Regions from separate parts of the Homo sapiens genome. Here region 2 is linked to region 1. The links are contacts of gene promoters, found by promoter capture Hi-C in blood cells and fetal thymus (Javierre and others, 2016). All regions are on one chromosome and are shown on one strand. Each heading gives the region's core, a stretch centred on a gene start or on the middle of the fragment in contact. The rest is flanking DNA. Distances are from core to core; before and after follow the strand shown. Region 1 holds the start of FAM241B (family with sequence similarity 241 member B). Region 2 has its middle 35 kb from the start of LINC02636.

What was found. The method cuts DNA at HindIII sites, captures the fragments that hold promoters and counts their contacts. A CHiCAGO score of 5 or more calls a contact.
Region 2: a fragment that was not itself captured here is called in contact with the fragment with the promoter of FAM241B in region 1 in 1 of 17 cell types (endothelial precursors); the score reaches 5.6 in endothelial precursors.

The regions. Positions count from the first base shown.
Region 1 is chr10:69,627,261-69,632,765 of GRCh38, reverse strand. It overlaps FAM241B (family with sequence similarity 241 member B), which reads right to left and starts at 2,519. Exons shown (of 4, transcript NM_145306.3): 1 at 2,453-2,519; 2 at 1,219-1,286; 3 at 927-1,057. The coding sequence starts at 1,022. RefSeq lists an enhancer at 1,091-1,976. The HindIII fragment of the contact is 17,043 bases long and covers 1,202-5,505 here.
Region 2 is chr10:69,971,546-69,977,050 of GRCh38, reverse strand. No RefSeq gene overlaps it. Among named protein-coding and RNA genes, the nearest start is that of LINC02636, 35 kb to the left of the region's middle. The HindIII fragment of the contact is 982 bases long and covers 2,451-3,432 here.

The DNA of each region.
Region 1 (5,505 bases), core at 1,270-3,769:
TGAATGAATCATTGGGTTGACGCACCAGCCAGGAATCAACCTCTCTAGGCTGCATCCTGCCCTTCCTACAGCCACCCAGGGTCACACCCTCCTTTCTCAGCAATCCCCCATGCCACCCATAAGAATCCCAACAACCAAGTCACAAGCTCTCAGAGCACAGAACATGCCAGTCTATATTCCTCACATCAGGCCCAGGACAGAGGAGAGAGGAAGTGGTTGAGGCAGGTTGGACTACAGGGCATGGCTCTAGGGCCAGCATTTTTAATACTCATCATCACTCCTTTCTTTTTTTTTTTTTTTTTTTTTTTGAGACGGAGTCTCGCTCTGTCACCCAGGCTGGAGTGCAATGGCGCGATCTCAGCTCACTGCAACCTCCGCCTCCCAGGTTCAAGCGATTCTCCTGCCTCAGCCTCCTGAGTAGCTGGGATTACAGGCATGCACCACCACACCTGGCTAATTTTGTATTTTTAGTAGAGATGGGGTTTCATCATGTTGGTCAGGCTGGTCTCAAACTCCTGGCCTCCTGATCCGCCCACCTCAGCCTCCCAAAGTGCTGGGATTACAGGTGTGAGCCACCGCGCCCAGCCACCCCTTTAAAATGATTATTCTGTGCCCAGGGCTCATCTCCTCCACTTCCTCTCCAGCTTCTGTCATCCAACCCACTCTTAAAAGAAAGACGCTAGCTCCAGTGAGGTTTGCTAACCAAGTTAAAGGAGAGAGAGCTCTTGGCTGTGAAGTCTGGGGAGGCGCCTGGAGAAAGGAGATCTGGGGAGGTAGACAATAAGCCACTGCATCTTCCCCAGCTCTCTGCAAAGAGGGCTTCAGGCTAGAAAAGGTTAGTGACCAGCAAGAGAGACTTCTGGAAGCTAGGAGTAGCCAGTACACAGGAGGCCATCTGTCCCACTCCACAGGAAATGAGTACCTACCTGTCGAGGAATGCTACCTCTTGGTGGCTGGGTAGTGGTCCTCACTCGGGGGTCGTCATCCTGCACGATTTCCCCATTGGCCAAGATCCGCACCATCCTCCCAGGCGCTGTGGGTCCCTGATGGGCTGCACCTGCATTGTGTGGTCAGGGTGGGCAGGCTAATGGAAGCCAAGTGGCACAGAAGTTCTCCCCACCACAAAACCTTTAGCTGTTAGTGATCTGGGACCAGACTCGTGAAGATCTGTGGAGGATTTTCCCCCTGACCTCAAAAAGCTTGAAGGAAAAAATTTACCAGAAATTGAGGGAGGCTTGCAGTCAGTGATGTTCACAGAGGTGACCCACGCTGAGTAGATGCTGTGTCTGATTAACAAAAAGGGGAGAAATAAAGGCAAGTTGTTTGCCAGGCAAAAAGATTTCAGACATTGAGTCCACCAGGAAAACTATCAAAAAGATCCTTGGCAAAGGAAGTTTTACTGCCAATCACTACACTGCCAACAGCACAACTGGGACTAGAGCCTCTGCTGTGGCCCACGCCCCGTGGAAGGCCCATCCTGCAAGGCTCACCTCACTCAAGCCTCACAACACTCCCCCGAGGAGGGTACTAGCGCGGCCATTGCACAGGCGGAGGCACAGGGAGACTTAAGTGGCCTGCCCGGGATCACACCTACGGACAGCAGAGAAGGAACACGAGGCCAGAAGCTCTGGTTCTAGGGCCCTCCCTGGGTACTAAACTGGGAGTCCAGGGCACCAGCATCCCCAGTGGGGTTCCAATTCCCTTCCACTAAAAAATGGGTCGAGTGTGTTGCTCCCCCAGGGAGTCAATGTCACCACCTGGGCCTTCCCCAGGAACACCCAGGGAGATGAGGGTCACTTCGGGGTTACTTTACAACCACTGCCTGGTAGCGGCAGACCATCCTAGCCATCATGCGCCTCGGAAGAGCACACCTTTGCTGCAGAGGGCACGCCCCTCACCTGTCCCTCACTTCGCAGGGAACACCAGTCCAACCTTGGCTAACGGGCGCAGGGCCCAGCCTTCCCAAAATATGGGAGGGGGTTGCTGCGGTGGCCCTCGAAAGGCTCCACTCCGCGGACCCCTGGACTGCGGGGCCCCTCCACGCCTCCCCTTGAGTCTGGGTAAAGGCCATTCATTCTCAGGAGATGAGCCTCAGTGTCCACCTACATTCCAGATAGCACTGGTGACATGTATGCCGAAAAAGGTCAGGAGCCCTGTGGTCTTGCCCGTAGCCTGGAGCCCGGGACAGGCGCGTCCCCCTCCTGAAGCCCGCTGGCCCTGGCGCAGGCCGAGCGGATGGTGGTCGCGCGCAGTCCCTTTGTGCTTTGTCATCGCGCCCCCGCCCGGTGGGCCACCCGCGCGCCCGGCCCGCGGCGCACCTGACATTCCGGGCCGGGGGCGGGAGGGACGCTGCCCCGGCCGCCAGCCCCAGCCTCTGGAGCCCGACACCGGCTCCAAGTCCCGGCCCGGGCTGCAGCGAGGGATGCGCTCCCTCCCCGGCGCGGCGACTCACCTGCAGGCGCGACTCCGGGCCTCGGCGGCGTCCACTCCCGGCGGCTCCAGGCGGTTTCCTCCCACCTGACCTCACAGGAAGCGCGCGCCGGAGGGGCGCGGCCCAGTGGCGGCGCACATCGCCCTCTGTAGGCCGCCTGAGGAATTGCACCTGCCCGGCCCAGGGTTGGGGGCGGCGCGGGGTGCTGGGGGTCGGGGAGATGGGGCGTGGGAAGGAGTGGGAGGTGGGGATGGAGAGAAAAGAGGATGGGAGGAGAAGACACGTGGAAAAGAAGGAGAAGAAGGAGGAGGGAGAAAAGAAGGAAAAGGAAGCGGCGTCCACGGAGGAAAAACCCAGGGGGTGGGGGCGCCCTGGCCTGGGAGGAAGGGCGGGCGCAGGCTCAGATGACCAGTGTTATGTTTGCTGACCCAGCTCCGTGGATGCCCCTTGAGTAGGACCCAACCCTGCCCTCTAGGAGTTCCAAGTTCAGTGGGGAAGATGAGGCAGGAACGGGGCAGAACCCTCTGTAGGCTTCCAGGAGAAGATGCGTTTGAGCTGGGGCAGGAGGGTAGGTAAGGATAGAGAAGGTCACTCTTGGCAGAAGGAACCACCTGCAGGGAGTGAATGATCCACCTCTGCCTCCTTCCTGATGTTTTAAAATCCACTTCTCCCCCACCACCTTCATAAGCTGCTCCCTGTGGACCTGCTCACCAGTGGGGGAGAATGAGCTGTGCAGTCCCACAGTCTGGGTTCAGGTTCTGGACTCTAGCAAGTTACTTAGCTGCTCAGTGTCACAAAGCAGGTGTAATCATAGCCTTACAGGACTTCTGTGAAGATTAAGTATGATGTCTCTGGCACATTGGCAATGTTGATAAACGTTAGCTATGATTATCATTTAATAAATGTTTGTGGGAGTGGCAGATATTTGTTGAGCATTTATTAGAACCCAGATTCTGCTAGCTGCTGGGCAGAAGGAACAAAACTAAGAGAGAGATTTAGACCTGGCCTGGAGGACTCATAGTCGGCCACCATAGTCTGATTATTTGATCATGAAACCTTATCAGCAAAAAATGTTTCACGGGTCGCTCTGGTATCTGTATCTTATTTATATGTTACTATTTTTGTTTGTTTCTAAATTACACATGTGTACTGTGAGAACAGATTGGCATGATGGATAAAAGGTGGCTGCTGGAGCCATCCTGTGTTTGAATGTTGGTGTGACTGCTTTCTGGCACTTTCGTGTCAAGTGCTTGGATGAGAGCCTGGCTGCAGTACATGCTCAACGGCTGCTGACTGTTATGATCATTACCTCTTCTACTATCAAGTCGATTGTAAAGCATGCACATTTTAAAAGCATAGGATGTAAAGTAAATATAAACCAAAATCCTAGTGCTTTCTCCCCACACCCCAGTGTGTTCCAGGTATGCCAAGTGCACGCATGAAAGCAGTAATCACAAGGCAGGATGCCCGATTGTCAGAGGTGGCCTGTGATCCCAAATCGCAATGTGCACATTGGAATTACCTGGAATGTTTAGAAACCATCCCAATACCTAGGTTCCACCCCAGAGATCACAATGTCGTTGATCTGGGTTACAATCTGTGCATGGAGACATTTTAAAAACCAGTCTTCTAATGAGCAGCTAGGGCCGAGAAACACTGCCTTCCATGAACAGAACCCCATAAGTAGGTCACGGAACTCAGGAGCCCCAAGAGGGAGGTAACCTCTGTGGGCTGGGAAACCAGGGGATACAGGCAGAAAATCATGGATGTTTTCAGGAAGATTTGAGCTGGTATAACTGCTGCCAGAGAGATACACTCCAGCTGGAGAGAACCGTAAGAGTCGAGAGGAAGAAGCAAGTCCCTACAGAAAAGTCAAGAACAGCTTTGGGGTGGGAAGTGATAGTGCTTGACTGGACTTAGAAATAGCCTATTATTACCAACTAAAATAGCCTAAGGAGGCAACATACCACTTTTGCTATCTCTCCACCTTCTTCAGGTGTCTCTCCTGCTCAAGAACCTGCAATGGTCCCTACTGTCTGCTCCAACAAGCCCCAACTCATTGGCAAGGCTTTGACAACCCTCCAACTCTAGCCCCAGCACACTGTCAGCAACTCCTTCCCTCAGCTCTGCCCACCTGGCCTCTTTGCTTTCCCTGAAGTAGATCACCCAAAGGCCTGCTTTGCTTGGGCCTGAATATCTGCTGGAAGGCCAGCTCCACCCAATCTAAATCCCTTCATCCACAAACGTGATTGTTTCATGTAATAATAATAATAACCCCTATATGTGCAGAGTCCTTACTTCCAAAGTGTTTTCCCAGAGACCACTTCATTCTTTTTTGGATTATGAAATAGAAAGAGTAGGTGTTATTATTCCTCTTTTACCAAGGTGAAATTGAGGCTCAGAGACAAGGTAGATGATGAGCCCAAGGTCAGTGACAGAGCCAGCGTTCAAATGAAGGCAGGTCCCCGGGCTCTGCATTCCAGGCTTTTGCATCCACCAAACAGACTCCCCTGAGTTCATCTCAGCTCTGCAGCCTCTTTACAATTGTGCCCCCACCTTCCCCAGTGCCATCAGCACAAGATTGGGCATTGGGTCATGCCTTAACCCCAACATGTGGTCAATAAAAATGTGCTTTTGGTTTTCTGTTCATAGCAGAGGTCATAATTTTTAAGTCAGGTGTCCTGGCCTGTTCTCTGACTCTGCAGGTGGGAACAACTGTTTCTGCCTCAAAAGAGAATGGCATGATGATAATGGTGATGTCATTTTAAATATATTAATCTATCTATCTCTTTCTCCTGCTATTTCCCCCTGTCTCTTTCCCCTACTCTGGCAGACACTATGCCTGTGTTTATTACTCAGAGAATGGTGTGGGAGAAAGGCAGCACTAGCTTGCCAGTGCCCACTGTTGGTGCCTCCTTAGGCCTGTGGCCATGGAAGACAGTATGACAGGGGCCTCTTCAGAGAAAACACTGGGAAAGGAGGAAATGATGGGAGCATAGGTGTTGTGTGCTGGATCTCAAAGGTGGGCATGAGGCTTGGGAAAGGGAATGGCCAGATAGTGAGTATGACAGGTA
Region 2 (5,505 bases), core at 1,692-4,191, 340 kb before region 1:
CTGCTGAGCTGAGGAGGGTCATGGAAAAGGCAAGTTAAAACTCCACAAAACTCCCTGTTCTTACCAAGTTTCAGCCAGTTTTCTTGAATAAATGCTCCTGGATTGCTGTAAGCCTTTCATTAATTTTAGAGTTCTGAAAAAGTCGATTCTGACAATTTTTGCCATTGTTTTAGTTGATTTTATGGAGGAGAGAATGTTCAGAACTCCTTACTCCTCCATTTGTACTGATGTCACCCTGAATACCTTTAAAATTTAGCACATGGTATCTCCTCTGTATGACCACAATTAATCAGTATTTCTCTCTTCCTCTTATTCAGAATAATGGATAAACTAGATATGATTTACTTTCTCCTTCCCCAGGTCTCTGCTACTTTCCTTGCTGAAACTATTTGGGATTTTTGTTTCTTCTAGATTCTATCAATAAAACAACAATTATTTAGGCTTAGCTGCACGTTTTACCAATTTCTATGGATATAATAGTTTCTTGTATCCCATGTCTTTTTATTTGCTCAAGTACATTTTCTAGCATTAATTTCAGTGAGAGTTTATGGCCAAAGAAATATTCTAAGTCCTGCAGTCTGAACATGTTTTTATTTTGTCATAATACTTAAATAGTTGATTGCATATAGAATTTAGGTTCAAAATTATTTTGTCTTAGAATATTGAAATTATTTCTACAGTGTCTTCTTTTTAATATATTTTTGTAAATAATTTCAAACACAAGAAATAGCTATAGCAGTGTAAAGAACTCCTGTATATCCTTCATCCAGATTTGTCCCTCTTTGTCTTATTTCCCACATTTGTTTTCTTATTTTCTTTTTCAGTTTTTTCAACTTATCTTTTTATCTTTTTTCAATTAAATTTTTTTTTTCCTGAATGATTTGAGAGCAAGTTGTAGACATCTTTCTCCTTTACAGCTAGATACTTTGGTGTGTATTTTCTAAGGACAAGAATATTCACTTATATATTTCAGTATGTATTTTCTAAGGACAAGAATATTCACTTATATATTTCAGTGTGCATTTTCTAAGCACAAGAATATTCACTTATATAATGTCACACCATATTCAAACGTTGCCAATTGCTCTATAATGAACTTTTTGTCCATTTTTTTTCTGGCCCTGAATGTATTTTCCATGTCTCTTTAATCTTTACTCTTTGTTATTCTGGATCAGTTCCTCATTGTTCTTTGTCTTTCATGACACTGATATTTTTGAAAAGTACAGGCCAATGTTTTTGCTGAATCTCTCTCCATTACATTGTATTTTTATATCCATTGTTGCCAGTGAGAATGTGGAGGTAGAGGGGCTGAACAAGAATGTATTTAAGTCGGCATAACCCATCCTCACTCTTCAAAAGCCAGGGAGATAAACAATCTATTTGGGGAATATCCAGTACCTAAACTCCTGAAGACCTGTTCAAGCTCAGAATCCTTGGAGATGCCATTTAATAGCTTGTTTTTGGGAATTTACTACTTTCTCAAATGAGGCGTGAGTTAGGAAAGAGATCTCTATGTGATTGGAGTTATCCAAACCAATCTCTTTCCAATTCCCACATTAAAATCTTACTTCCGAGAGGGTACACTGCCGTTTTCCAATCACACATACAGGCTGTTAACAGCTACTATAGTCACAATATATTAAAGACACCAATGGCCACAATATGTCACCAGCTATCACTGTAAACCGTGATAGAATCAAAAAAGATTTAGAATTCAATGTCTTCACTTTTATGAAGAAGAGGCCGTGGGAGATGAAGGGCTGGTGAAGGCACATAACTTGTTAGTGCCACAGCCACATGACTTCTTCGGGTCACAGCCACATCTTGAATTAATATTCTGATTTATTATTTTAACTTGAAAAGATCCAGCAATGCTAAGGAAATCACTGTATCCTTAGCAATGGCAAGAGTATAATGACCACATTAATTAATACTGAAAAAGTGGGGAGGGAGACATAGTTCAAGTCTCCAGGACTAAGATACTATGATTCTGCCAGCCCAATTAAAAAGAGTGGGTGGATGATAAGCATGAAGTATCATTGGATGGGCCTCTGTGAGGTCAGGAGGGAGACTGCATGGGGGTGTATGAGGTCAGGAGGGAGACTGCAATTTATTATTCTAAGAGCATCTTAGCTGTTGGCACATTGAATTAAGAAGCCAGTGACAAAGATGTTCTTCCCAGTCAGCGGCCACAAATGTGAAGGTTTAGTGGTCTTTAATTCAGAGGAAAGACTCTAGCCATATAAACATAGAGATTTATTACTCACCCAGTGATGACTGCTATGAAATCCAGGGTCAACATCCTTCACTACATCTGCTTTTGATCAGCTCTGCAGAGTTAGTATTTATGTCAAGAGTTCTTAGCCCCAAGCTAAGTGGGGGTGGGGTATGAGGTGGAGACAGTGAATAGACAGAGGAAAACGGCTCAGAGAATTCAGAGGTCAGAAGCTTAACACTCAAATACAGGGCTCCATCAATATCTGCCCAGGGGTTTTTCTGATTACACATTTACCAGCCTAATATATGAGTTGAAAAGGATGATGTGTTTTAATGTCTGTGAAATAAGTCTAGGTATTAAATAAGGCAGAGCATTGCTTTACAATTGTAGGAAAAAAATTCTATGCTTTAATGGAAAATGATGCCACATCTGTAGCATATCCTTCTGGGGTATCAGGTTCTATACTATTCATTGTCTTTGAGCTATTTTGCAGCCCTTTCTAACTTGTAGGTAACCGATAGTTATATAAATTATATACTGTCCAATAGTGATAATTGACTTTGTTTCCATTTGCAGTTCATCTCAACCTTCCTTTACTGCATATAATTTGTGCTTGTTTGATTTTTCCTTTGGACCGGTGAAAACATCTGTCTGGTTCCCTCATCATATGAGTCAAATGAAATCTTTAACATGTGTTCATTTTTATATCAGTTTAAGAGTATGATTTTACCTTTTCCTGAACATTATCTTTTAGCAAAAATCCTTCCAAATCCTGATTGTTTGTGGAAAGATTCAGCCACTTGTTTTTCCTGTCTTTCCAAGATTTGGTTACCCAGATCAATTTTCTGGAGACTTTTAAACTAGAGCTTTTAAACATCAGTCATTTAAAACAAAACACAGCTGAAGTTCTTTCTAATGCCATTTTCTGAATTGTCAGGTTAATTAATTGGAAATCACAGGACTGTGTATCTAAGATAACTTCCTGTTTTACCAGTCCTGCATCAAGGATCTGATAGAAGTTCAGGGCTGGCAGTGAGACAGGAAAAGCCAGGAAAGAGAAAGTGGAGAAGGTGCTTTTAAATGCTCAGTGCTAGCATTTCACAGAAGGAAGGGCTCATGATCATGCTTAATGGAAGACTCAGACCTGGAACCCACTTCTTCAGGGACTTCTCAGTCCCATCCTGCTTCTCAGAAAAGGAGGAGAGATGGAAGCTTTTACTTTTATGACACAATTGTCCTCATCCACAGCCAAGATCCCCAAACTGTACAGTGCAATGCCTGTATTTCTGATGGTCTCAGGGGAAGATGGAGGGCCTGTAAGTGGCTGAGAGATGAAAGCACAAGTTCCCCTCCACCTGCCTTCCATGTCCCTCATCCTGAGCTGCAGGTGGAGCAGGTGGAACCACATCTGCTGAGAAGGACTATATTGTCTCTTTATCCCTAGCTGTTTTTCTCATGAGCTGGAGGGCCCATGATTTTGAATGACCCTGGATGAGTCACATAAATTCCCAGTCTTTCATCTGTAAGATGCGAGGGGTGCAGATGATCTTTAAGGCTTCTTTCTACTCTGACATGGCAAGAATCCACGGTCAAGCCTTTTGGTCTGTTGAAGTGTGAAGTAAGCTGCTAGTCATTGTGGCTTTCCTTTGAGTTGAATTGGTTCAGTTTGGTCATTTACAAAGGAAAAGAAGGCACTCCTCAGTTTGATGTATTTGTATATGTGAGTTCCTTGGATCCAAAGTAGAGTTTGCCTGGGACATTCCTTGGGATTCCTTCCCCCTTTGGATGGATTGCCAATTCCACATCATTTGATTACATTTCTGCCTCCGGAAAAGGCTTCATCATGGAATGTTTGTTAGGCACTGATGAAGAAATTTTGGTCAAACCAAGAACATTCAGACTTAAGAATTTTGTTAAAAATTATTGAAACTTATTTCTTCCCCAGTGCTCTTAAAGGTCATAAGATCATTATGATTATTAATTATGGGCCTTTAGAAGTACCAGTAGAAGTTAACTTGACATTCAATTTCCATTTGGTTTTGTCCCAAAATAGAATTCAAGCAAAATACAATAATTAAACAAATTTCCTATATATAAAATTTTCATCCCTCAACCAATGAACACAATGACAATTAAGGCTTAGTAATTCCATGCCTTTGAGTACACCTTTTTACTTTCAAAGCATGTTGCATCTATTACCTTATTGAGTTTTAAAACAATGTTGGCAGCTGTTTTCAGTTTTAGATGAAGCTCCAAGAGGTTAACTGACTTAGTCAGGGCCCCACATCTGTTAATGAAAAAGTCAGAGCAAAACCCACTCTCCTGACCCTTCATCTTTTCCTCTTATATGGCACCATCTTACTTCCATTAGTTAGGAATGAAGTTTCTCTTTAATCATGAAACTCTTTCCCTTCTGAAGGACAGTAAAGGTATATAATTTCTAAAAAAAGAAAAAAAAAGAACAAGATATAGATGATTTGTAATTTATTACTTGGATCAACTTCCATTTTAGAAAAGACAGAAACAAAAAATATAGTTAATATTTACATTTTTTACAATGAAAAGTATTTACATCATAGAGAAGAAGTATGAAATGGCATATAAAACTCTAGAACAACACAAATAGCAAGGACTACAATTTCAGCAAAAAATTATCTGTCCATTTTTTTTCCTTATAAGTTGAAGTGTGTCAGGCTAACTGTTGTCTAACCGTTTTGCTAATTTAGCCAGTTCCTGCTTCATTTTTTTCATTTGATGGCTTTTTCGAAAGAGCCTTTATTTAGTGCAATTAGTAATTGGTCTTCCCACATCACTCTTTTGGGTTCACCTTTGATCTTTAGGATACCTATTACATTACTGTGGTTCAAGTCATTGGCCCCTGTGGTTCCCAGCGGGTAGGACCTCTTACTTAAAAGAACAGTTGTGTTCATTTGCTAAAATCCTCCACATCTGGACAGTAGCAAAGCTACATTTCAAAGAATAGGCTGTTTTGTTCAGCTAAGTCTTTCCATACAGAATACTTGTGTTGCATTCAAAGTCTAGCCCTGTATTTTATAGGACCAAGGCCCAGAAAGCCTGTCATTGCACCAGTGACAGAACTGGAACCAGAACCTAGGTCTTCTGTCTCCCCATGCAGGGACCTCACCCTGGTGTCACACTGCCCAGGATGGATGTGTTCAGGTTAGGGAGAAAGGTCTCTTCTGAACTGAGACCACACTGCCTGTCTCTGTGTGTGCTGCCTCACTGGTGAGCAGGGCCTGGGTCAACACATATTTCTAGAATTCCAG